Linked DNA regions of Homo sapiens: region 1 is linked to region 2. The links are contacts of gene promoters, found by promoter capture Hi-C in human tissues and cell types (Jung and others, 2019). All regions are on one chromosome and are shown on one strand. Each heading gives the region's core, a stretch centred on a gene start or on the middle of the fragment in contact. The rest is flanking DNA. Distances are from core to core; before and after follow the strand shown. Region 1 holds the start of LOC124901427 (a long non-coding RNA gene). Region 2 holds the start of RAET1E (retinoic acid early transcript 1E).

The links. Contacts are between HindIII fragments. The study calls those that stand out against the background at their distance.
Region 1: a fragment that was not itself captured here is called in contact with the fragment with the promoter of RAET1E in region 2 in 1 of the 25 tissues and cell types used here (psoas muscle).

Annotation. Positions count from the first base shown.
Region 1 is chr6:149,849,484-149,852,671 of GRCh38, reverse strand. The region is part of intron 2 of LRP11 (LDL receptor related protein 11); the gene reads left to right. The region is part of intron 10 of RAET1E-LRP11 (RAET1E-LRP11 readthrough); the gene reads left to right. It overlaps LOC124901427 (a long non-coding RNA gene), which reads right to left and starts at 258. Exons shown (of 2, transcript XR_007059808.1): 1 at 108-258. The HindIII fragment of the contact is 3,383 bases long and covers 1-3,001 here.
Region 2 is chr6:149,896,035-149,899,454 of GRCh38, reverse strand. RAET1E (retinoic acid early transcript 1E) reads left to right here and starts at 1,342. Exons shown (of 6, transcript NM_001394057.1): 1 at 1,342-1,434. All of the region lies in intron 1 of RAET1E-AS1 (RAET1E antisense RNA 1), which reads right to left. It overlaps RAET1E-LRP11 (RAET1E-LRP11 readthrough), which reads left to right and starts at 3,325. Exons shown (of 15, transcript NR_182438.1): 1 at 3,325-3,420. RefSeq lists a silencer at 788-1,082. The HindIII fragment of the contact is 8,770 bases long and covers 1-3,420 here.

The DNA.
Region 1 (3,188 bases), core at 61-2,560, 47 kb after region 2:
GAGCTCAAGATCCAGGTAGAAAATTTGAAACTACAAAGGAGTCTAAAGAGGACAATAACAATAGGATGAACTTATCCTTCACATGAGCCGGAAAGTAGACAGCTTACCTGGCAGCTAGGTCTGCTGGGGCACACCGAGCCTGTGAGGGAGGGAGGCCAGCATGCGGTGCTCCTGCCCGGGGCTCCTGCCCGGGGCTCCTGGGATAGCCGCCGATGGAAATCAGCCATGTGGCTGGTGGCTGCCTATGCTCAGGAAGTCTTGGGTGGTGAGACAAGTGGCTTTTTATTCACCCTCTCAGGGTGGATTCCTGGCTTAGGCAAATAAGCACTTCCTGGCTTAGGCAGATAAACTGCATCCAAACCACTTCAGTTAGAGGAAGTGGAGAAAGAGGGTGAGGTAAGGAGGCACTGATTTGTACTCTACTGGAACCAAAACAAAAACAAATCTGGAAGTCCCTCATCACTGGTTTAAGTAAGAGTGATTTTACTCCCTGATTATATTGCATTAGAATTGGACTCACCCTCGTCCAGTATGGTTTGCCTTTGTCCCCACCCAAAAATCTCATCTTGAATTGTAATCCCCATAATCTCCACGTGTCAAGGGAGAGACCAGGTGGAGGTTACTGAATTATGGAGGCAGTCACCCCCATGCTATTCTCATGATAGTGAGTGAGTTCTCGCAAGATCTGCTGGTTTTATAAGTATTTGGTTGTTTCTCCTGCCACCTTGTGAAGAAGGTGCCTTGCTTCCCCTTTGCCTTCTGCGGTGATTATACTAGTAAGTTTCCTGAGGCCTCCCCAGCCATGTGGAACTATGAGTCAATTAAACCTCTTTCCTTTGTAAATTACCCAGTTTCGGGCAGTTCTTTGTAGCAGTGTGAGAATGGACTAATACACCCAGCATCCTTCCCAGCCTCTCCTCCAAACAAGAGTGCCTTCCACAACACCCCTTCCAAGGCTCATCTGCCATCTGTCTGACTTTTCCAAGGGCAGAAGCTCACTACTTCACATCATGTCCATGACATTACTCATCACTGTGTTGGGCAAGCAGGCTACGCCTCCCCTTACTTCTGTGCATTGGTGTTGGGTCTTCCCTTTGGAAAAACACTGAACTCATCTTTTTATCCTGTGTAAAAGCTTTGGAAGTCTTTGAAAAAAAGAAAGAAAGAAAGAAAGAACATCACCAATTGGTATGCTGTTCTCAGAACTCAGCACCCCACAGTTTGTCAGATGTTCCTCATATGAATTGATTTTTCAGGCCCGCCACTATCCTGCCTTGTCTGGATTTTCTCATATTAATCCATACCCTTCTTAACATCTAATACCCCTAATTGAACCCCATATTTAAGCTTTGGTTTTCTGACTCATTCATTACCTACTGTGATCCAGATATTGCCTCTCCTTCTATTAATGAGCTTCGTTACATGAACTGTGTCAGTAGCTGCATCACACAGTGGGTTCGTGCTGCATTTTTCTTGCCTTCAAGAGGAAACTCTGAACCAGTTCCCAATCGTGTATAACAGTGACGGCAGGTAGACCTCAAGTTATGAAGCCATCATCTAAATGACAGGGCCTGTACTAGGGGAAACATCTGTTACCAATTTGTGACTGTCTTAGAATGATATACATTCATGAATGTCACCCAAAGTTAACACTCATCCTGCTGAGACTTCATCATAATCAAAGCCCCCACGGATTGAGCACCCACTGAGTGCCAGGCAGCTTAGAGAGATCTGTAATCCACTGGACACCCTCACTTGTAGGCACATCCCCATTTGGTGGATGAAGACTGTCAGGAAACATTGTGGAAGACTTTGAGGTGGGCAAAAGATTACTAAGTACCTTTCAATGGAATGCTGGGTTGGTTAGTGGATCCTTCAGGGTTAACATCTATAAGTTGCAGAAAACTGATAGTAACCAAATGATTCTTGTCCATAGAAATGCAAAAGAAAATTAGGTATATAGGGGTAATTGACTTTCACCCTAGAGAAAATAAGATTTCAAACATGACATTTTAGTACATGTAGATACTAACCGATCTATTAGTAGATTCATTTCAGTACTGATTAGCAAACCCATTTCAGTTTTGCATCTCCTAGCAACTTCTTTTTGGCATTCATGATTGCCTGTATATGTGTAGTCTTCAGATTCTTTAAATCAGTTGAACACCTTATTGGTTCCCTCTTTAACTAATGTCTTTGAAAAATATTCATATTATATTTGTGTGACAGTCATAGCTTTACTATTTTGAGAATTTTCCTTTAACAGTAATTAACCCTCAGGAGCTATGCCTCTGATCCCTTTAACTTGAGCAGCCTTATTTCACACCCCAACATTTCTGCCAGGAGAATTGGGCCTCTCAAATCAAATTCCTTTTTCTCTGAGAATGGCTTCCTGCTGACTGGAACACTGATGCACTCCGCCCTCAAGCTGCAAAATGGGGCTAAGTTTGAAGGTTGTTGAGAATAGAGGGAGGGCAGTCACACAGCAAAATAGTTAAGTTAAAACCTGTTATTGGATGCCCTTGTTCCTAAGTCCCTTGACTGTCCCTAGCACCCAAGAGTGTCCATTGATTGGGCTTTCCCCTGAGCGCCCATCTCCTCCTCTTCTTGAGCCATTCATCCCTCCTCTCATCTCCCCTGCTCTCCACCATCTGCACGGGCTCCTCACCCTTGCTGTCTGTTCTCAGGCAGAGTAGTGATCTCTCCCTTTGCCTCGTGATACTTTAAGATCAGCTTCTAGGGCCCATCTTTTCATGTCCAAGTGACCCAGACAGGTATTCAACCTGCAAGGAATTATGCTGTCAGATTAGTTATGAAACAATTAATAGTTAATTTTTAAGCATCTGGTATGTGTCCAGTACTGTACTAGGCACTAAGCATACAGGAAAGCTCATGTTCCTGACTTGTCTCATTCATTCGTTTATTCATTCATTCATTCATTGACAGGGTCTCTGTTGCCCAGGCTGGAGTGCAGTGAGTGGCACAATCATAGCTCACTGCAGCCTCAAGCAGTCCTCCCACCTCAGCCTACTGAGTAGCTGGGACTATAGTCATGGCTAATTTTTTTTTTAACTTTTTGTAGAGATGAGGTCTCACTATGCTGCCCAGGCTGATCTCAAACTCCTGGGCTCAAGCAATCCTCCCTCCTTGGCCTCCCAAAGTGTTGAAATTACAGGCATGAGCCACAG
Region 2 (3,420 bases), core at 93-2,592:
GGTCTCCCATTATGAAATAGAGGCCTTTACATTTAACAGTGGTTAAGATGAAAAATCACGTTACATGAATCATACCACAATTTTAAAAAAAGAAAGAAAGAAAGAAATACAAGGGTTCCAAATGCGAGGGGCAGGGAGAACCAGGCGTGGAAGGGTGTGCCACCTGGGAGCAGGAGTGGGAGTGAGCCGGGCAGATGCCTGAAGGGCAGTCCATGCTGAAGGGAGGGCAATGCAAAGTCCCAAGGCACGGGGACATCTGCAGGGCTCTGAAGACCAGCAAGGAGGCCGAGGGTGGAGGTCGGAACTGAGCGAGTGAGGGGGCATAATGGACAGCTGGCCAGACTGTGCAGGGCTCTCTAGGCATCTGTAGTGACTTTGGTTTTACTGAGAGAAAAAGGGCACTTTTGGAGAATTGGAGCAGAGGGGGGCGTGAGTGATGAGGTTCTGAAGATCACTCTGGCTGCGCTGTAGCCATTTGGGAGGTGGGGACAGGCACGGAGAACCAAGTAGGGCAGCACTGCAATCACCCTGGCCAGGAGGACGGTGGCCTAGAACCAGGGTCGAGTACTAGATGACAGTGTGGTCAAATCATAGATATTTTATTTCTAGTCCAAAGAAGAGATAAGAAAGAGGTCGAGCAAATAGGTGATTTTTTTTTTAAATTATTCACAGCCTTATAACATAACCTCTAAATCTTCAGTAAAGTTGGCTACATTCACAAGTAGCTGGTGTCACTTTGGTGGGGGCTTTGTAAGGAAGTGGGCAGGGTGTCTTTTAAGGAAGACTCAGGAGAAGTGCTGGTCTTCCAGTTGCAGAGGGGAATGGAGTTGCAAGAAGAAAACAGCGAGGTTCAGTGACACACAGTGCGAACACGAGCTCAGGGGGCAGGAGCTCCAGGTCTCAAGAGGGCAGGACGATAATGCAGTGTTTGCACAGAAACCAAGCAATAGAGGGAGCCAGCACCCACCAGAAATGAGGTAGGGCCGCTGTCACAGCTATGCCAGGACCTGCAGAAGCCTAAACCCTGAAAAAAGGTGGGGGCCCCCACCTACATATCAAGGAAAACATATGTATGCCATCACATGCTGGTCTCCAACAACTGCTAAAATTACATTAAATCCTTTCTAGAATTTCGTGGCTGGGACTTGAGTCTGGTCTTGGTCCTTCTACTGATGGTGAATCCAGTACTGAATTGGATCCAATTCTGGACGAGTTACCCTGTCCTAGAATCACTCACACGTGACAGTTGACAGGTGGCCCCACCCGGTTTGCATGGTGGACGGGTGTTCTGCTAGGCCGGCCTCTCCACACCCAGAGAGACTGAACTGGTTTCTGCTCCTCAGAGAGTTTGCACAGAGACTCTGAGGAAGCAGTCACCTCAGGCCTCTCCATCCTAGAGACGGCAGAAGGACAAACATCTCCTGCTGGCACAAGGTAGGGGGTGGGGGATGGCTGGTGTTCCAAACACCCGTGCAGAGGGAACGTGTGCATGTTTGGGAGTGAAGGAGGAAAGCAGGGGCTCGAGTGGTGAGAGAACCAGGGGCAGATAATGAAGTAAAAGTGGGGTTGGGGGAGATGCTGGGGGTGTGGCGGCGGGGACGCTGGATAAGGCAGGGAGGACGGGGTGGCTCTGCGGGTCCTCTGCCTCCACACCAAGCACTCAGGGATCCGTGCCTCCTTCCAGTCTGGAGTCCCAATCGCCCCTCTCTCCAATTTGGGGGACAGGGATTTCTCCTTGTTCTCCTGCCCTAACTCCTTCTTTCCGACTTCTCTTGTCCCATTCTCCCTCAGATCCTCCCTTCCGCTTATGCCAAGGCTTCCACAGCCTCGCTCTGCCGGGCCTTGGCATTCCTAGCCTGAGTGTTGAAACCATTGGCCGGGACCTCAAGGCAGCTGGGGCAGGGAGAGGACGGTTAGAAGCCCAGGGCACACTGCCACAAAAAGGCTGTGACTCATTTTCAGGGATTGAAAACTGCAGTCCAATTCATTTTAAAATTTTCGTCTCTCTTTGGACTTCAGGCTGAAAGTTCTTTATAGCAACGGGCTTCCAGGGACTATGTGAAATTATTGGTTTCACTTTCCTTATCACCCGCTTCTTACTTCAATTAAAATTCCATTTCAGCCGGGTGTGGTGGCTCACTCCTGTAATCCCAACACTTTGGGAGGCTGAGGGGGGAGGATTGTTTGAGCCCAGGAGTTCGAGATCAGCCTGGGCAACGTGATGAGACCCCATCTCCACACCAAAAATTTAAAAATTAGCTGGGTGTGGTGGCTCATGCCTGTAGTGCCAGCTATTCTGGAGGCTGAAGTGGAAGGACTGATTGAGCCTGGGAGTTCAAGGCTGCAGTGAGCCGTGCTCATGCCACTGCACTCCACCTGGATGACAGAGCAAGACCTGGTCTCAAAAAACAAAACAAACAAAAATCTACTTCATATGTAACCATTACTTCAGTTTTGAAACCATTGCCTGAAGCTGACATTTTGCAGTTGGAAAATGGCTATTCCTTCCCATCTTCAGGTTGGCTCAGGCCAAGCTGAGATTCAGGACCACAGAGGGCAACAAAGGTGGAAGGGCCCCTTTCCCCTTTCTGTATATTTTTCCCAGCCTGTCTGCAGCTCTTTCTTTTTCTTCAGTGTTAGGTTGGCATCCCAGATGTCAGGACCCAAGTATAGGCCTGGTGTGCTCCTTCCTGTGAGTCATCAGACTTGTAGAAAATATTGGCCCTGCTAAGGAGCTACTCAGTGGTCATATCACACATATGCACGCACACACACACAAGCACCCATGCACACACACACACACACACACAAACACACACATACACTCTGTTCTTGGCCCACCCCCGCTGGTGTCCCCACAGCAGCAGTATTGGCAGGGCGGTAGCAGTGAGTTCCTCTCTGTGTACTCTCAGGGCCTGGATGTGTACAGAACAGGCTCCACTCAGGACAGATTTGAGACCCCTTCTCCAGACCAAGAGGTGGAAGTGCACCCTCAAAATTGAGGTTCTTTAACCTTAGCAGACAGAGAACCACATAGGGGACATGTAAAAAATGTGCATTCCTCGGCTCCTTCAAACGCTTGACCCACTGTCCTCTGAGCAGACAACCCCTTATCCCCCAGCCCCAGAGATAGAGCCCTGCCGATAGTCCATGGTTACTTTCTTTGAAGTCTGTTCCATCTAGTTAAGAAAGGACAGTGGTAAAGACCCACTTACCTTACCAGGCATCATAAGGGCCCTAGCATCTGAGTCACAGGATGTCACCCTCTGGGTCTGACATGCACTTGAATTAACTGGCATACTGCCCGGCACACAGAGGGAACCTAGATGTGGAACGGATATGGGTGGTGTTACAGGCCGCATGTTTGCCTGCCTTCCAAATTCATATGCAGAAATCCTAATTCTCAAGGTGATGCTATTT